7 separate regions of the Homo sapiens genome follow, and regions 1, 2, 3, 4, 5 and 7 are each linked to region 6. Evidence: promoter capture Hi-C in 16 types of primary human blood cells and fetal thymus (Javierre and others, 2016). All regions are on one chromosome and are shown on one strand. Each heading gives the region's core, a stretch centred on a gene start or on the middle of the fragment in contact. The rest is flanking DNA. Distances are from core to core; before and after follow the strand shown. Region 1 has its middle 21 kb from the start of LINC01747. Region 2 overlaps LINC01747 (long intergenic non-protein coding RNA 1747). Region 3 overlaps NAPB (NSF attachment protein beta). Region 4 overlaps LOC124904963 (a long non-coding RNA gene). Region 5 has its middle 38 kb from the start of LINC01747. Region 6 holds the start of CD93 (CD93 molecule). Region 7 has its middle 78 kb from the start of LINC01747.

The links. Contacts are between HindIII fragments. The CHiCAGO score rates a contact against its expected background, and 5 or more counts as called.
Region 1: a contact is called between a fragment that was not itself captured here and the fragment with the promoter of CD93 in region 6, in 1 of 17 cell types (neutrophils). The highest score is 7.0, in neutrophils.
Region 2: a contact is called between a fragment that was not itself captured here and the fragment with the promoter of CD93 in region 6, in 1 of 17 cell types (neutrophils). The highest score is 5.4, in neutrophils.
Region 3: a contact is called between a fragment that was not itself captured here and the fragment with the promoter of CD93 in region 6, in 2 of 17 cell types (neutrophils and monocytes). The highest score is 7.1, in neutrophils.
Region 4: a fragment that was not itself captured here is called in contact with the fragment with the promoter of CD93 in region 6 in 7 of 17 cell types (neutrophils, endothelial precursors, M1 macrophages and 4 more); the score reaches 13.7 in neutrophils.
Region 5: a fragment that was not itself captured here is called in contact with the fragment with the promoter of CD93 in region 6 in 3 of 17 cell types (endothelial precursors, M1 macrophages and erythroblasts); the score reaches 10.4 in endothelial precursors.
Region 7: a contact is called between a fragment that was not itself captured here and the fragment with the promoter of CD93 in region 6, in 1 of 17 cell types (neutrophils). The highest score is 5.3, in neutrophils.

Annotation. Positions count from the first base shown.
Region 1 is chr20:22,704,540-22,707,239 of GRCh38, forward strand. No RefSeq gene overlaps it. Among named protein-coding and RNA genes, the nearest start is that of LINC01747, 21 kb to the left of the region's middle. The HindIII fragment of the contact is 9,619 bases long and covers 1-2,700 here.
Region 2 is chr20:22,669,292-22,671,991 of GRCh38, forward strand. LINC01747 (long intergenic non-protein coding RNA 1747) reads right to left here. Exons shown (of 3, transcript NR_146527.1): 3 at 1-229. Among named protein-coding and RNA genes, the nearest start is that of LINC01747, 15 kb to the right of the region's middle. The HindIII fragment of the contact is 3,211 bases long and covers 1-2,700 here.
Region 3 is chr20:23,415,266-23,417,965 of GRCh38, forward strand. All of the region lies in intron 1 of NAPB (NSF attachment protein beta), which reads right to left. Among named protein-coding and RNA genes, the nearest start is that of NAPB, 4.9 kb to the right of the region's middle. The HindIII fragment of the contact is 3,803 bases long and covers 1-2,700 here.
Region 4 is chr20:22,687,050-22,689,749 of GRCh38, forward strand. All of the region lies in intron 1 of LOC124904963 (a long non-coding RNA gene), which reads left to right. Among named protein-coding and RNA genes, the nearest start is that of LINC01747, 3.1 kb to the left of the region's middle. The HindIII fragment of the contact is 4,909 bases long and covers 1-2,700 here.
Region 5 is chr20:22,721,880-22,724,579 of GRCh38, forward strand. No RefSeq gene overlaps it. Among named protein-coding and RNA genes, the nearest start is that of LINC01747, 38 kb to the left of the region's middle. The HindIII fragment of the contact is 996 bases long and covers 938-1,933 here.
Region 6 is chr20:23,084,928-23,087,627 of GRCh38, forward strand. It overlaps CD93 (CD93 molecule), which reads right to left and starts at 1,397. Exons shown (of 2, transcript NM_012072.4): 1 at 1-1,397. The coding sequence starts at 1,265. RefSeq lists an enhancer at 1,381-1,560. The HindIII fragment of the contact is 6,182 bases long and covers 1-2,700 here.
Region 7 is chr20:22,762,001-22,764,700 of GRCh38, forward strand. No RefSeq gene overlaps it. Among named protein-coding and RNA genes, the nearest start is that of LINC01747, 78 kb to the left of the region's middle. The HindIII fragment of the contact is 7,405 bases long and covers 1-2,700 here.

The DNA of each region.
Region 1 (2,700 bases), core at 25-2,524, 380 kb before region 6:
TCTTACAATTAGGTCTGGGATCCATTTTAAGTTTATTTTTGTAGAGTGAGAGTTTTATTCATCTGCATATGAATATTCAGTTTTCTAAAGACCACTTATTGAAGAGACAGTCCTCTCCCTCAGTGAGCGACCTAGGCAACTCTGTTAAAAATCAGTTGGCTATAGATATGTGAATTAACTTCTGGGTCCACTGTACTGTACAATTGGTATTTGTGTCTGTTTTTATGCCAGTACCACACTGTTTTGGTTACTATAGCTTTGTGGTATATCTTGTAGTCTGGTAAAGTAATTGCCTCCAGTTTTGTTCTTTCTGCTCAAGATTGCTTTGGGTATTTAGAGTCTTTTATGTAGTTTAGATTTTTTTTCTATTTTTGTCGTTTTGTCAAAAATATCTTAACTATTTTGATACTTTATTTTCTTTTTTTGTTGTGTCATTTTCTGGTTTTGGTCTCAGGGTTATGCTGGCTTTGTAAAATGAGTTAGGAAGAACTCACTCCTCTTCAGTTTTTTTGAATAGTTTGAGAAGAATTGGTATGCATTTTTCTTTAAAGATTTGATGGAATTCAGCAGTGGAGTCATCTGGTCCTAGACTTAACTTTATTGGGAGACTTTTTATTACCTATTTAATATTTTCACGCAATATTGGTCTATTCAGGTTTTCTATTTCTTCTTGGTTCAATTTTGATAGGATGTATGTGTCCAGAAACTTATCCTTTTCCTCTAAGTTTTTGAATGTATTGGCATATAGTTGTTTATAGTAGTTTTTAAGGCTCCTTTTTATTTCTGTGCTATCCTTTATGATGTATCCTTTTCCATTTTTGATTTCATGTACTTGAGTATGTTCCCTTTTTTTTCTTAGTCTAGCTAATGGTTTGCCAATTTTATCATTTCAGAAAAATCTATTTTTTGTTTCATTTATCTTTTGCATTTTTTTTGTTTTAATTTCATTTATTTTTGCTTTTTTTTTTTTTTTTTTTTGACAGAGCTTCACTCTGTCACAGGCTGGAGTACAGTTGTACTATCATAGTTCACTGCAGTCTTGAACTTAGGCTCAAAACATCCTCCCACCCCAGCCTCCCAAGTAGCTAAGACTAGAGGCATGAATCACCACTCCTGGCTAATTTTATTTTAAATTTTTTGTAGATACATGGTCTCACTATGTTGACAAGGCTGACATTGAACTCCTGACCCCAAATGATCCTCCCTTCCTGGCCTCCCAAAATGCTGGGATTACTGACATGAGCCACCATGCCTGGCCTTGATCTTTATTATTTCTCTCCTATGAATTTGGCATTTGGTTTGTTCTTGCTTTTCTGATTTCATGAGGCGCATCATGAGGCTGTTTATGTGAAATCTTTCTAATTTTTTGATGTAGGCATTTATTGCTATAAACTTGCCTCTTAATACTGCTTTTGCCATGACCTATAGGTTTTGCTATGTTGTGTTTCTATTTTCGTTTGTTTCAAGGAATTTTTAACTATCATTATTGATTTCTTCCTTCACCCATTGGCCTTTTAGGAGAATGCTGTTTAATTTCCATATATTTACATTATTTTGAATATTCTTGCTATTGATGTCTAGTTTTATTTTATTTCATTGTAGTCAATAAGGTACTTGATATAATTTTGATTTATAAATTTTTTTTCAAACTTGTTTTGTATTCTAACATGTGGTCAATCCTAAAGAATTTTCCATGCACTGATGAAAAGAATGTGTATTCTCCAGCTGTTGGGTGAAATGTTCTATAAATATCTGTTAGGTCCACTTGGTCTATAGTGCAGTTTAAATCCAATGTTGTTGTTGTTGTTTTAATTGTCATTGTTAATTTACTGTCTAGAAGGTCTGCACAATGCTGAGATTGGGGTGTTCAAGTCCCCAACAATTATGGTAGCTTCTCCTTTAGATCTAATAATATTTGCTTTATATATCTGGGTATTATTAGGTGCATATTAGGTGCATATATATTTATATATATATTTATAATTGTTATAGTCTCTGGCTGAATTGATCCCTTTGTTATTACATAATGTCTTTCTTTGTCTTTTTTGACAGCTTGTGACTTGAAGTCTATTTTTGATACAAGCATAGCTACTCCTTGCTTTTGGTTTTGTCCAAAAAACCAAAAGGGATATATTTCTTAGATACATTTTTATCCCTTTACTTTCAGGCTACATGTACCTTTACAGATAAGATGAGTTTCTTGTAGGTAGCATATAGTTGGGTCTTGGTTTTTTATTCATTCAGTTAGTCTACATCTTTTATATGGGTGAATTTATCCTGTTCACATTCAAGGTTATTATTGATAAGTGAGGACTTACTCCTGTCATTTTATTGATTGTTTTCTGCTTGTTTTGTATATCCTTTGTTCCTTACTTTCACTCTTATTGTTTATTTTTGTAGTTGGGTGGTTCTCCATAGTGATAAGGTTTGATTTCCTTCTCTTCCTTCTTTGTGTATCAGCTCTACCAGTGAGTTTTATAGTTTTCTGTGTTTTCTGATGGTAGTTATTGTCTCTTCACTTACACATGTAAGACTCTCTTGAGCATTTCTTGTAAGGCCAGTCTAGTGGTGTTGAATTCCCTTTGTTTTTGCTTATCTGTGAAATATTTAATTTCTCCATTTCTGAAGGGTAGCTTTGTTTAGTATAATTTTTTTTTTACTGTCAGCTTTTTATTTTATTTTATTTTTTAGTACTTGGAA
Region 2 (2,700 bases), core at 41-2,540, 420 kb before region 6:
AGACCAATTCAAATATAAAGATTTAAAGTAAGAAAAATTACTTATCTGTCAGGTTCCTTGGTTCCTGGACAGCTTTTCTGCTCTGGATCAGCTCAGCTGAAACTGGGTTATCTTAGACAGTCTCACTCACATGCCTGGTGGTTAGCTTGATGTTATCTGAGCAATAGTCATGTGACTCTTTTCCTTCAGCAGGACAACCCAGTCTCATTTTCTCGGAGGCAGAGGTATCCTGAGCAACAAAAGAGGCCAAGATCCAATGAACAAGCACTTTTCAAATCTTCACTGTGCCATATTTTCTAATGTCTCCTTAGCCAAAATATTTGTCCAATCTGGATTTAAGAGGCATCAAATGGACTCCATCTCTTGATGGAATTTGAGTCAGATTGCAAACAGGTGTGAATATATGCTTGGGAGGAGCTTTGGGGCCACTTTTGCAAACCATTTATCAGATGTGCCAGGGTCTCAAGGAAGAGCTAGGGAGTCAAGGCAGGTCAGCAAGGAACATGAGCACTGCTTTGAATGGTGGTGAGATTTCAACAAAGAAGGATGGGTTGAAGTGAAAGGCAGCCCAAGCAGAGGCAGCGTGAGAGGAATGCTCTGGAGAAGAGAAAACTTTGAGCCTGGTAAAGGAATAACTACAGTGTCATTAGAGTGAAAGGATGGTATCAAGAACCCAGAGAAGCAAAGCAGAAAGATGGGAAAATAGAAAATAAACTACCTCAATGAAATTTCAACATCAGCATAGGCATGTACAACAAATGCCATGTGTCAATCTGCATTCTGTTTGATATATAAAGTGTGTAAAAAAAGATTTTTTCCAGGATGCATACAACCTAACAAGGTTGAACTATGAAGAAATAGATTGATAGACTAAATAGACTGATAATAACAAAAGGGACTGAATCGATAGTAAAACATCTTCCATCAAGGAAAAGCCCAGGACCTGATGGCTTCACTGTTGAATTCCACCAAACATTTAAAGAAGAATTAATATCAACTTTTAAAAACTAGGCCAAAAACTTGAACAAAAGGAAATTATTTCAAACCGATTTTGTAAGGCAAGCATTATCCTGATAGCAAAACAAGACAAGGATACAACAACAACAAAATAAATTATGAGCCAATACCCCTGAGGAAAATAGATGTAAAAATCCTCAACAAAATACTAGAAAACCAAATTCAATAGTGTGACACAAAGATCATTCAGCAGGATCAAGTGGGATTCATCCTAGGAATGCAAGGATAGTTCAACATACTCAGATCAATAAACATAATATATCACATTAACAGAATGAAGGATAAAAACCCTATGATTATTTCAATAAATGCAGAAAAAGCATTTGACAAAAATCAACATCCCCTTCATGATAAAAAACAAAAAGAAATTAGGTGCAGAAGGAATGTACCTCAACACAATAAAGGCTTTGCTATATATGAAAAACGCACAGCTAACATTATTCTGGAAGGCAAAATGTTGAAAGCTGTTTCTCTGAGATCAGGAACAAGACAAGGATGCCCACCTTTTCCACTTTTATTCAACAAAGTACTGAAAGTACTAGACAGAGCAAATAGGCAAGAGAAATAAATAGAAAGTATCCAAGTTAAAAAGAATAAAGTTAAATTGTTCCTGCTTATTGATGACATGAGATAATAGATAGAAAATCCTAAGCACCTCACTAAATAGCTGTTAGAACTAGTAAACCAATTCAGTAAAGTTGCAGATTCCAAAAATCAATGTACAAAAGTTAGTAGCATTTCTGTATGCTAATAATAAACTACCTGAAAAAGAAATATAGAAAACAATTCCATTTACAATAGCTACAAAAACACCTAGGAATAAATTTAAGAAAGAGGTGAAATGTCTCTGCAATAAAAACTATTAAACGTTGGTGAAACAAATTTAAGAAGACATAAATAAATGAAAAGGAGGTTCCATGTTCATGGATTAGAAGAATTAATATTGTTGAAATGTCTATACTACTAAACATATTTATAGATTTAATGCCATCTGTATCAAAGTATCAATGATATTCTTCACAGAAATACAAAAAACAATTATAAAATTAATATGAAATCACAAAAGACCCCCAATAGCCAAAGCAATCTTAAGCAAAAAGAACAAAACTGTAAGGCATCACACTACCTAACTTCAAAGTACACTATAAAGCTGTAATAACCAAATCAGCATGGTACTGGCACAAAATCAGACAGATGGACTAATGGAACACAAAAGAGAACACAGCAATAAATCTATACACTTACAGCCAACTAATTTTAGACAAAGATGCCCAAGAACACACAATGGGAAAAGGACAGTCTGTTCAATAAATAGTGTTGGTAAAACTGGGTGTCCAAAGAAGAAGAATGAAACTAGATTTGTATCTGTCATCATATATAAAACCAACAGAAATTAACTCAAGATGGATTAAAAACTTAAATGTAGGCTGGTGTGGTGGCTCAAGCCTGTAATCCCAGCACTTTGAGAGGCCAAGGCAGGCAGATCATGAGGTCAAGAGATCGAGACCATCCTGGCCAACATGGTGAAACCCCATCTTTGCTAAAAATACAAAAATTAGCTGAGTGTGGTGGTGTGCACTTGTAGTACCAGTTACTCAAGAGGCTGAGGCAGGAGAATCACTTAAACCCGGGAGGCAGAGGTTGCAGTGAGCTGAGATTGTGCCACTGCACTCCAGCCTGGTG
Region 3 (2,700 bases), core at 121-2,620, 330 kb after region 6:
GTAAAAAGAAGACTCAGAGAACTTTACTTTTCAACTGAAAACTCTCTGCGCTGGGCACGGTGGCTCATGCCTGTAATTCCAGCACTTTGGGAGGCCGAGGTGGACGGATCATGAGGTCAGAAGTTCAAGACCAGCCTGGCCAACATGGTGAAACCCTGTCTCTACTAAAAATACAAAAATTAGCTGGGTGTGGTGGCACCCATCTGTAATCCAAGCTACTCAGGAGACTGAGGCAGCAGAATCACTTGAACCCAGGAGGCAGAGGTTGCAGTGAGCCAAGATCATGCCACTGCACTCCAGCCTGGGCAACAGAGCAAGACTCCATTTCAAAAAAAAAGAAAACTCTCTGTACTCCTTGTACTTTTCTACCGTGTACAGCTACAATGTTCATAATAAGCAAATATTTAAATAAAATGCCTAGTACAGTGGCTAACACCTGTAATCGCAGCACTTTGGGAGGCTGAGGTCAGCAGAGCAGATCGCTTGAGTCCCGGAGTTGGAGACAAGCCTGGGCAACATAGCAAGACCCTGTCTCTACAAAAAATACAAAATTAGTCAGGCATGGTAGTGCATGCCTGTAGTCCTAGCTACTTGGGAGGCTGAGGTGGGAGGATCTCTTGAGCTCAGGAGGTCAAGGTTGAAGTGAGCAGATATCTCGCCACTGCCTTCCAGCCTAGGCAACAGAGTGAGAGCTCGTCTCAAAAAAATAAATACATAAATAAAACGGAAGAAAGCGACTTAAACTCTCCTTTACTTGGTATAGCTTTGCTCTTGAAAACTAGGTAAGAATAAAAGAAAAAACATCAGCATTTGTATTAGCATTAATACATTCATTCTCTCCACCAATATTTACCACGTGCCTAACGCATGCCTCAGGCTGGGTGAGGTGTTAGCCACAGCAACAAAACAGGCAGACTTCCAAGGAGCCACATATGATTACTGGCCCTCCCTCTCTCCAGAGTAACTGCACCTCACAGAGCTCACAAGAATGAAAGAATATGTGGAGAAAACTGCAAAAATGCAACAAGAAAAAGGCCAGTCTGGTAACAGTTTATCATTTGATACCAAGCTGTAACAACCTAAAATCAGAAAACCAAACAATTATAATAAAGTTATATAGCTCTGTGCAACTGAATAAGCATTCTGACCTCATTCAATCCTTAACAATCGTGAAAAACAGATTCTGTCTCTCTGCCCATCTGAAAACTAAAAAAAACAAGTTCTGAGTATGATTTACTTGACTATAGTCACCAAAATAGTAAATGAGAGAACTTGAGCCTCTACCTGGTCTCCCCATGAATAATAATATAATTATATTTCTTACGTATATTATATAATTTATAAAAATAATTGTTCAATTTATAATCGATTTCTTTTGAGAAAGATACACAAATATACGTATATATTTCTTATACTGTATCACCTGTCTCTGTCAGTAAACCTGAGCCTAATAATTTTTTTAAAAGTTCAATCTGCATTTGAACAAGAATTGTAACTGAGGAAAACCTAAATGCTTCACCTATGTTATCACATGGCCCCACCATATTTTGGCCAAACTTAAAAGCAATCTTTGTTGAAATAAACACAAGTGAAGAATACTGATAATTTACAGTCTACAATGCTTAAGAAATATTCACAATTTTCACAAACAACCAACAAATTATAGATTCATAATTATTTCAAGATAACCCAATGGGGCCTTTCATTAAATTTACATTGACATTGCCAAATTTGTAGCTCTTGTGTAAACTCAGACTAAACACTGAAAGGCAAAGGAAGACAGCATTAACCATAAAGAACATCTTTCCACTGGCATTCTTTTTTTTTTTTTTTTTTGAGACGGAGTCTCGCTCGGGGGCCCAGGCTGGAGTGCAGTGGCACAATCTCAGCTCACTACAACCTCCACCTCCAAGGTTCAAGTGATTCTCCTGCCTCAGCCTACCAAGTAGCTGGTATTACAGGCGCCCGCCACCACGCCAGGCTAATTTTTGTATTTTTAGTAGAGACGGGGTTTCATCATGTTGGCTAGGCTGGTCTCAAACTCCTGACCTCAAGTGATCCACCCGCCTCGGCCTCCCAGAGTGCTGGGATTACAGGCGTGAGCCACTGCACCTGGCCTCCACTGTCAGTCTTAAGCACTTTCTTCTATGTGCATTGTGCAGGTTATTCCCAACCGGGTCTCATAGCAACAAGATGGAGGGGATAGTATTATAAGAGGCTTTTCCAATTCAAAACTATCTTAATGTCAGACTCAGGCCGATTTAAAATCATACCAGTAGTTCATTAACATTATAAACTGGAATTTGAAATTAACTACAAAATTCCATAGCTCATCCCTGGCAACAAACTAAAGGACAAGACAACTCCTTTGGAAGTAGTTTTACTAAACGTACTATACTACAAACTTGAGAAAAAGTTTTAATTCCACAACTACAAAAGCACATTACTGCTTAACGGGCAATTAAGCAGAAACACAAACCACCACAACAGTGGTTTCCTGCAATGTTTGCATCCCTTGTCAGCTCTTTTCCTGGGGAGGAAGGTGGGGATGGGAAAGGAATATTGATACCTTACCTATCAAGCAGATAAGGCAGAGGATTTGTGCCTTACACAGAGAAGAAATATTTGACTGACATGTTCTCATAAATACATATGCATATTTTCATCTAATTTTACTGAAAGCAAGAAACAAAAGCTATA
Region 4 (2,700 bases), core at 71-2,570, 400 kb before region 6:
CCAGGGCCTTGGCACTTGCTTTCCTTCTGCTTTAAATATTCCTTCCCTGGAGCTCCATGTGGCTGCCACTTTCTCATCCCTCAAACTTTCTGTTGCCCTCTCAGGTAACATGGGAACAAAAAGCAAATGTTACTTTATCAGAGGCTCTCATTGAAAATCATAGCTAATGCACCCACTCACCCCACCCTCACTGCAATTTACTTTACTTTCTATCATGTTGTCCTGTTTATTTGTTTCACATCGTGTATCCCAATCTGCAATGATTTCCTTTACTTGTTTGCATAGTTTGAACTCACGACAAGGTCAAACGTAAGGTGGTTTTAAAATAATGTGTTTCTTTATCATTTTTGGAGCTAAATTTTGGGCAAGGGGACATGGGTGTTAGAGTTTGTGAATTCATCTTCTTGCAGTGGATGTGCCCTCGCTCACTGTTACTCATCCTCCTGAATGGGGTCAGGGCCTGTTTTAAATGGTAGGTGGCATTTCTCTGCTGTTAAGCATGTGATTTTCTCTGCATCAGAATCCTGGGCAGTCACTGTCTGGGTGGCAGTGGGCACCCTCTTCTGTCAGTGCTTCAAGGGTGACAAGCATCTCATTGCAAAACAGACATGATTCTTTTCACTTTATGACATGTTGATCAAACCCCTCAGATAAATTGTTGGTGCCCCATCCTGTATCCCCTCAGCCTACCTGTGTTCATCTTCAGCCATGAGGGGCAGATTGCTGTAAATTGACAACTTCCCATTCAAGCCCTTGTCTCTGCCTGAGGGCTTCCCCATCACAGGAGCCTGCTTCACTGTGAATGTACTTACCTAGAAAGGGGAGCACAGGCAAGACCCCCAGCCCAGAGAATTGAGTTTGGATGCTCACACGGGTAACCTGCCCTTGACGCCTCCATTATCTTTTTCCTTGCCTCCTCCATTCACTTCCCTACTCCCTCATTTGTGCTTCCTGGGACCACCTTCCACATAAGCTGCCTGCACCCAAGCCCTTGTCTCTGGATCCACTTTGGGAGGATCCACACCAAGCAGAACTCAATTCCCTTTTTCTTAGCAGCACTTCCTCTTTGTGCCACATCAAGATCCACTTCTGTGGAAAAAGCCTGTGTGGGCATGGGGGCTTAGGCCTGCCAAAGTCTAAGAAACCACGTGGACCACACCTGGGAATTGTTCCCCTGGGGAGTTGGAGACGTGGGCATTTTGTCCTCTACTCGTGTCCCTACCCATGTCCACCTCTAGCCCTTCCTGCCCTCTTGGCCATTTACCTTCCCTGTTACCCTTTGCTCACCGTCTTCCTCACCAGAATGGAGAACTGGCCCCTGGCAAGCTCGCCCCATGGCTGCACCTTTAAAGTTGTCTTCTCCAAGCGTGTGCTGGGCTGTCAGCAGCGTCACCCAGGAGCTGGAAGTGCAAATGCTCAGGTCCTTCCCCAGACCTGCTAAATCAGAGACTCAGAGGGTGGGCTCCACCCTTGTGTGCCCACAGCCCTCCAGGGGACTCCAGGGCTTGCTGCAGCCCTAGAAGCACTGCTCTAAAGCCATACTAATTAGCATTAGATGTATAGTTCACAACAGCTTGTTCTGCTTCTAACCACTGGTCGGAGGGGTTGGGGCCTGATTATGTAACAGCATATGATGACTCATTAATGATGAGAGATGTTCTCGTGTTTACCAATATCTTCATATCAGTTTGCCAAAGTAATTCTTGATACCACACCCAGATGCTGGGAAGAACAGGGGCTTTGGGAACTGAAGCCCTCACATTGACCTCCAGCCCTGTCAGTGCCCCATGCATCCCTGGGGTACCTTTCCCCATCTGTGCATGCTGTTCCTGGGTGCCGCTATGACCCCCACAGCCAGTGCCAGCTTCTCTCTGTGAGCAGCTGTCCCAAGGCTGCTGGAGCCCTTGTGCTCACCCTGCTTGCATGGGGGCCTGAGACAGTCCTTACCCAGTGATGGGTGGATGCAAGGGACGCAAGACATCCCTCAGGTTCAATGATTCAAGAGAACTCATAGGAACCAGAAAGGTCACCAGATTCACGATTACCTCTTACTACACATGGTTCCAACACTACACAGCAAGTCGAAGTCAGCAGTGGGAAGATGCACCTAGGGTGGGTCCCAGGAGAGCTCTAGCTGTGGTGCTCCAGTGTCCTCTCCTAGTGGGGCTCTGCAGCAGTGCTTAGTTCTCCCAGTAATGACATGGGGCAGCATGCATGGAATATTGCTGACCAGGGACACTGACCTGAGCCTTGGCGTCCAGGGTTTTTATTGAAGGCTTGGTCACGTAAACATGATGGACAATCTACATGGCTGACCTGGTCTCCAGCCCCTTGACAGATCAAGCTGATACAAGACCTCCACTGTGAATCCTATCCTTAGCATCAACTACCTGGTGTGGCCTAAGGCCTCGGTAAACAGACACTTATCAGACAGGACATTAGAGATTAAAGGACTTAGAGGCTGCCTTCCAGGAGCTGTGCCAGGGCCACACCTTTCTTTGGGCAAGGTTAACCCTTTACTACTTGCAGAATATGAATATTCCAGCTCCTTCATCGCCAGTGCGGCCTCTCTGGGGTGTGACCAGCCCTGACTCTGTCTCAGAACTCCCTAGCAGGAGGAAGCCAGAAGCACCCACGTGGTTCCTGGCTCACTTTTTTCACTCCCCAGTCCCACCTTTCCACTGTCTTGCCTCTTTTTGT
Region 5 (2,700 bases), core at 186-2,685, 360 kb before region 6:
ACTGAGGATTGTCAGCCTGGTCTCGTTTACACGGGCTGATATTTCATGAATTTTAACTTTTCTGTATGGCCTGCCCACTTCCTACTTCTTCATTCTCCTTTTAAAATGCCAGTTTACCTGCGTACAAATGGAAGTTGAGTTCCCTTCATGGAGGACTCTTTTCCCTATTTCACTAGTTATTACTAAAATCGGTCCTTACCCCTTTACCTAGTGTCGGGCTGTTTATCTTTGACAGTAACAATAGCTCATCATGGCTTTACTTTCCATTTTCCTGATGGCTGATGAGGTGGAACATCTTTTCACATGTATTTGGGTTTCTTCTTCTCTGAGGTATCTATTCAGGTTCCTTTGCTCATTTTTTTTAAGCTGTCTGTTTCTTAAGTGTTTTTATATAAGTTTTTTTTTCCCTCCTAAAATGGCATGTGAAGAACAAATTATCCACAGAGGTTTAGAATAGAATAGATTAGACATGGACAGTTTAAAGGTGAAAGAATAGAGCCTAAGAACAATGAAAATGATAAAAGTGTTGGTCTCTTTCGAGGATTTAGAAAGAATGGGATTATGCAATGGATCTTTTGTTATCTTCCAAAAGAAATCCATTTCTTGGGAACAAGATGAGCATAAAAGTAATGAAACACAAATGACTTCGTGACTTATATGAATGATGGAAAAAGATGATTATTGGAAAGACATTATACTAATGTATAATAATAGAAAGCAAATAAAAAGAGTAAAAGTTTGGAGAAGGTTATGAGTTCTATGTAAAACTCTTCATAAAATATTCTACTCTTTCTACACTATGATAAGGCTCACAAAAATACATAACATAAAAATAGTCATATTTTATCCAGTGGGTTTTAAATATTTATGGAAGTCCTCATGATTCTCTTTAATAATGACATTTTTGTATATAAAATGTCAAGTGATCACTTCCTTAAGCTTATGTTTTCTTGGGCTGACATGGCCCATTACCACATGTTCCTGCTGCAATCCATCCCTGTCTCCTTTTGAGGCTGACAGCAGGGTCAAGGGCTCCCTGAAGGGCTTGTTCCATTGGGTGTGGGACTTCCTGCCCAAGGGCCTTGCCTTTCCTGAAGGAAAAGTGAGGCTGTCCCAAGGGGAAGGAAGAGGAGCTCAGAGCTAGTAGAGAGGCCCACTCCCAGGGACATCCATGCAGGGGGTGAGGCACTGCTGGGATGCTTCTGATGGGGACAGTCCAGCCAGCATGCCATTGCAGCCACAGCCATCCCAGGGCAGTGCCAGTTGCAACTCAGTCCCCCCAGCAGCTGAGTACAGACGTCACCAATTGGTGGCCCACCAGCAGAGAAGGGCTGCCAGGGGCTTGGCCGTGGAGCCTACAGGGCACCTGCTCAGCCAGCCTGCTCCAGTCCCCCATGCTGGGGTGGGTGCTTCAGAGCTTTCAGAGCAGATTGAAGGGTGTGGAAAGAACAGAAGTGAGATAAGAAAGGAGAAAGTGTTAAGGACCCGAAAGAAAAGTCATGTGAACACAAAGAGAGTCCACAGCAATGTGTCCCATCCAACAATCCTTTGACCATGGGGAAGCAGCCTTTCCTTTGGGGTCATGGCTGGTGTGCTGGGTCCAGGGCTGCCTTGCTGAGATCTGCTGAAGCAGAACACAGGTGCCAGCAGAGCACGGGGTTTGGGATCAGATAGGCTCTTTACTGGGCCATGGGACCCTAGGCAAGATTTTTTTGTTTAAATCTTTCTTTATTTCAATAGCTTTGGGGGTACAAGTGGTTTTTGCTTACATGGATGAATTGTATAGTGAGGAAGTCTGAGGGTGATGAGGCACCCATCACCTGAGTAGTATATATTGTACCCAATATATAGTATTTATCCCTCACTCCCTCCCACCTTTTCTCTTCTGAGTCTTCAAAGTCCGTTACACCACTGTATACTTCTGTGTACTCAAAGCTTAGCTCCCACTTGTGGTGAGAACATGTGGTATTTGATTTTCCATTCCAGAGTTACTTCACTTAGAGTAATGAAGGCAAGATGTTTAATGTGTCTGCAGATCAGCTTCTGTTTGTGCTGTGCTCATGAGCTGAATCACTGCAGGCTGAATCCCAGCTGCCCAGCTATAAATGTTTGCCTCAAAGAAGGTGCTCAGACCAGGTGCGGTGGCTCAAGCCTGTAATCCCAGCACTTTGGGAGGCTGAGGTGGGTGGATCATGAGGTCAGGAGATTGAGACCATCCTGGCCAACATGGTGAAACACCGTCTCTACTAAAAATACAAAAATTAGCTGGGGGTGGTGGTGAATGCCTGTAATCCCAGCTACTTGGGAGGCTGAGGCAGGAAAATCACTTGAACCTGGGAGGCGGAGGTTGCAATAAGGCAAGATCATGCCACTGCACTCCAGCCTGGGCAACAGAGAGACTCTGTCTCAAAAAAAAAATGAAATAAAATAAAAAAAGATGCTCGGTGAATAGGAGACTCCTTTGAGCGCTCAGTATGTAGGTTGGGCAGCAGCTAAAGAATGATGCAGATGCCTTCTTTATGGAGGATTTTGTTTTGGAGAAGCCCCTCTCACCTGCCTGACTTCCCTGTGGCAGAGGTCAAGTCCAGTTCTCAGAGCTCACACCTCTGTCCAGTCAGCCTGGCAGCCCCTCCCAGAGGCACATCAGGGCAGGAGGTGAGGGTCAGTCCTGGTAGATCTGGAACCAGTACTGGCCTCTCG
Region 6 (2,700 bases), core at 147-2,646:
CCGTCCTCCCCGGCCAGGACGTAGCCCTCCTCACAGGAGCAGTGAAATGAGCCATCTGTGTTGGTGCAGCCCTGGGCGCAAGGCGAGCGACCCAGAGCACACTCATCCACATCCTGACAGGCCCCCTCTCCAGGACCGCCCGGCTCATAGCCAACCCAGCATTCGCAGCGGAAGCCCCCAGGGGTGTTGACACACTCCTGGGCACAGGGGGAGTCCTGGCATTCATCCACGTCCACACAGTCCAGCTGACTCGAGTCCAGCTGGTACCCTTGGGGGCAGCGGCACGTGTAGTTTTTCCCATGGGGTCCCAGGACGCACGTGGCCCCCCCACGACATGGGCTGGAGCTGCAAGGGTTTCGAGAGGCACAGGTCACCAGGTCATCCAGCAGCCGGAATCCTGGTCGGCAGCCGCAGAGGAAGGAGCCATCCCCCCCTTCAAAGCAGTCCTGGTGGCAGCCCCCATTGTTGAAGTTGCAGCCATACTTGGGGCTGACACAGAGGGGGCCCGAGCTGCCCCAGTCGAACACATCGGGGGCCTTCTCCTTGCACAGGAAATAATGACTCTGAGTCTCGTCCTTGTCACCTTCCCCACAGGCTACATTGGCCGCAGAGGCAAAGGGCACAGCCTCCAAGGAGGAACTGGTGGTCTGGAAGGGGGTGGTGTAGGTCACCTGACCTGGGCCCCCCAGGGCCAGAGGCCGGCACATGCCTTTGAAGCTGAACTTGCACACGAAGCCCTCAATGTTACTTCCGGGGGAGCCTGGGCTCCCACAGGGGCCCTCAGACCACTTGGGGAGGCGGCTGGGAAGGAGCGGCTGGGACAGGTCCAGCAGCAGAGACACACAGCGCTTGGAGATGCACGAGTTCCGGAGCTCCTTGTGCCAGTTAGAGTAAGGCGTGTCCTCCCCCCCGCCCACCCAGCTGAAGCCCTTCAGCGGCAGACTAGGGTCCAGGCACTTGCCCTTCTCTCGCTGGAGCCCAATCCAGAACTTGCTCATCCTCGCCGTCAGGGCTGCCTCCCGCCTCAGGAGCTGGGCCAGTACTCGCTGGACGTGCTGGGCCTCCTCCTTGCTCTTCACAGTGGCCAGGTTGCCCCCGTTCTGGTTGCAGTGGTTCTGGGCCTCGGCAGCGCTCAGCTTGCCCGAGTGGGCCGTGTAGCAGGCGGTCCCCACGCAGACCACCGCCTCCGTGTCAGCTCCCGTCCCCGCCCCGGGCTGGGTCAGGAGCAGCAGCAGCAGCAGCAGCAGGCCCATGGAGGTGGCCATCCCGGTCTCTGTGTGGCCCTCTGCGGGAGGCGAGAAGCCCAGCGGCGACAGGAGCTTCTATCTCGGCTCCCAGCTGGGCCCCAAGGGGAGCTGAGGGGTGAGCTGCAGCCACTCCGGCGCAGAGAAGGACACAAAGGCTGAGGGCTTTCCACGTCCCCCTGACCCAAGGCGCATCCTGTACTGTTGTACTTCTTATTTCTCACCGGATGTTGGGGCTTCCTGCAATGAATAGTTCTCTGACTCCTGCTGCCTTCATCACGGTGCTGTTGTTCATAAAAGGAGTCAGGCAGCTCTGCCGGGTCCCTGGCTCAGCACTGTGGAAACAGCGACGGGGGGAAGACGTTACAGCCCCGAGATACTGCCGGCTTGATTTTGGCTCCATTCTCTTTCTCATGGCATGAGGAGCCTCGGAGGCATGCCATGGAGTGAGCAGGGGCTTTGGGGGCTAGGAACTCGAGGAAGCTCCCTTAGTAACCCATAATAAAATTCCACTTTGGTTTGCAAACCACCAAAAGAGAAAAAAAAAATTCTGAGACTTAAGACACAAGGCCATGGATGGTTATAATTTTCAGCCTTTTTTAGAAGCAAACTGGACTTTCCTTTTGCCTAGCTCATGTTCTCTGTTGACTTTGGGAGCCTTTTTTCTTTTATCCTCCCATCGTGAACCTTAAATAGACAGGCATTTTTTAAATAGGATACGGGTCGTGGGAATGTCTGGGTTTTCAACATAATGCCAAGCTCCTCGATAATGTTAATCCAAATTGGGTGAAATTTGGCAGTTCTGGGGGTTTCATAGTGGAAATATTGCATTGTGAGGTGTCAGGGTCACAAAAAGCATCAGAAAGAAAATGAAAATGTGTCCGGCCTCGTGGCGCAGGGCTTGCAGGCTCACTTCCCCCGGCTCAGGATTCCTAGCAAGGGCCGGAAATCTGGGCAGGGAGCGGGAATCGAAGCCCGGGCAGGCCCTCCCGCGACACCGCGACTCGGCAAAAGCCAGGGACTCACAGTGTGCTTTTCCTGCAGCCACAGACCTTTGCTCATTGGTTGGGATCCCCCAGGAGGGGACCCTGAGACAGGATTTGGGGAGACTAGTTTATGTGGGAGGGGAAGTGAAACAGACAAGGAGGAAGCCAACCCATGATGACTTGCTGAGAAGGTGACCCTGGGCTGCTGGAGCCAGTGCCAGGAAACTCTGGGGGCCTGAGGGGACCACACCTCAGCACCATCTCAGCTGAGGGAGAGGCTCCACTGCTCTCCAAGTCCCCTGTCATTGGTAGCAGGCTGTATCTCTCACTTTGAGAGACTGACTATAAATTCTAGCCCTGCCCAGTGACCAGGGGTCTCTCTCACATAAAACTTGTTTCTATGGACAGACACCCTTGTGGCTCTCGTCTGACCCATGTCCAGTTTATTCCTATCAAGACAGCCACTTCCT
Region 7 (2,700 bases), core at 136-2,635, 320 kb before region 6:
GAGATGGGGCTGACCTATCTGCAAACATAAACAACCACAGGACTGTACACGTTGAGAGGGTGAATGGTATCTCAATAAAGTGGTTAAAGAGAGAGAGACAGAGACAAAGAAACAGAGACAGAGAGTCCGAGAGAAAGAGAGAGAGACATAGAGACAGAGAGAGACACAGAGAGAGGGAGACATAGGGAGAAACAGAGAGAGAGATATAGAGACAGAGAGACACACAGAGACAGAAAGAGAGAGACACAGAGACAGAGAGAAACATAGAGACAGAGACAGAGAGACATAGAGACAGAGAGAGACAGAGAGAGAGAGAGACAGAGACAGAGAGAGACAGAGAGAGAGACATAGAGACAGAGACAGAGAGAGACATAGAGACAGAGAGAGACACAGAGACAGAGACAGAGAGAGACATAGAGACAGAGGCAGAGAGAGACACAGAGACAGAGAGAGAGAGAGACGTAGAGGCAGAGAGAGACAGAGCACTGGGGCAAGATGAGCTCCCACCGCCACCCCAGGAAGGGGCAGTCTGTGTCAGCTTCATTTCCTGGGAAGTAGAAATGTTAACCAAGGGAAATGGATGTTTTCTGCAGGCAAAGAGAAGGTCCCAAAATCCTCAAATTAATCATGCCCAAAGTTTGCATTATATAAAAGCAACACCTAACATGTCAGTGGATGTACAAAGGCACCTGGAAGGCATAGACAGGCCCAGGCCTGTAGAGTGTGCCCCACAGGCTGAGAGAGGCCACATGGCCAGGGAAGGGTGGGGCAAGACAAGGCCTCATGAGGGCCTGGGCAGGTCTGCCTGGCTCACAGCTGTGTCCTGGGGTCACCCCCGGCTGGGCACTTATGACACACTCAGAATGTGGAGTGTGTATCAAGGGGACAGCGTTCCATGTGGAAAGGGTTTGATCCCACAGGGGCAGGGAGCAGAAATATCTTCAAGTTGGACCACCATACTTTAATGTTAACAGACATCAGTGCCAGAGAGTCCTGTTCTAATTCTCTGACTTTCCCTGTCCTCCCTAATCAGGGGAAGTGGAGAGATGGCAGACTCCAGATTCTGGGAGCCCTGCATTCCTCTGTGCTCAGGACCCAGCACTCAGGCTGGCACCACTGTCTATTTGTGTCTGTCTCTCTGTCTGTCTGTCTTTTGTTGTAGCGGTTCTTTCGTTTTAAGTGAACTGGTTTCCCCAATGTGAGCAAGAAGAAATCCTACATGAAAAACATAAACGTCTTAGCGTGGCCAGATGAGACCCCTACACATCCCAAGGAGAGGCCGGGTGTGTCAGCTCAACTCACCAGGAAGTGCCTGGAGTGATCTCTGTGCCTTTATTCAAATGCCAGAGAGTTCACCGGCAAAGCATAACTTTGAGAGAATTTCTGAATCATTCCCAACAAGTGAGAAAGTGCAATTTAATAGAAAAAATTCCACAAATGGAGAGAATGCTGCTGAGCCTGTAACCTCAGACAGTGTCATGCCCAGGCCCCCATCTCTGGCCCCACGCCCGTGTGCCCACAGCCTGCCTGCCATGGGAACCCCCCAAATACCTTTTTATCCTGTTACACCCTGGGTTGGGGAAGGGAGTGGTGGTGGACTCTCCTGGATAGACTCAGTACCAAACCCTCTTGACCCAATTCAAAGGGTGGGACGGGATCGGAAGCAGGAAAAGAGCCATGGGTCAGGCAGCCCCTGGATAGATAGGTAGGGAGGGCCTGAGTGCCTACTGCCCCGTGCTGGGCGGTTCCAGGAAATTCCAGGCTGGCCAACCTAACTGGCTGCTATTTTAAGAGCTGTGCTGAGGCAAACCTAGAGAGAAACTCAGCTCAGTAAAAGCAAGACAATTGTATCAGAGAAGGCAAATCAGGCCACTCGAACTGTCCCACACCTTCTGGGATGAAGCCAGGGGCACAGGACTAGGCTGTGACTGTGATGCCCCTTTGACAACTGACCAATAGTTCATGGTCCCCCTAGAGCCTGGGCCAAGCCCTCAGCTCCCTGAAGTACCCACTTAACAGAAGGAGGAGGCTGTATGTCCCTTGGGATGGACTGTAGACACCAGTGCCCCCTTTAGATGGTCAGCAGTGCCTCCCAACCCAACCCATCATATATATATATATATATATATATATTTTTTTTTTTTTTTTTTTTAGATGGAATCTCACTCTGTTACCCGGGCTGGAGTGCAATGACGCCATCTCAGCTCACTGCAACCTCCGCCTCCCAGGTTCAAGCGATTCTCCTGCCTCAAGCGATTCTCCTGCCTCACCATCCCAAGTACCTGGGACTACAGGCACACACTACCACTCCCAGCTAATTTTTGTATTTTTAGTTGAGACAGGGTTTCACCATGTTGGCCAGGATGGTCTCGATCTCCTGACCTCATGATCCGCCCACCTCAGCCTCTCAAAGTGTTGGGATTAAAAGCGTGAGCCACCGTGCCCAGCCCCAACCCATCATCTTAATACCATGACTCTGTAGAGCAGAAGTTCCCAAATGAGGTGGCCCCACTCGGGTTCACTTTCCTGACAAGTCCAGGATGATTGCTCTGATCTCAGGGCCATGGTCACCTGCTGTCCACTTGCAGACCTGGACGGCGTGAGGCCTGGGTCTTCATCTGGTGATCCGGTGTCACTCAGCATCACTCATGCCTCCTGGTGGCTCCTCCCTTAACCATCAGATGAGGTGTGGGGGTGAGC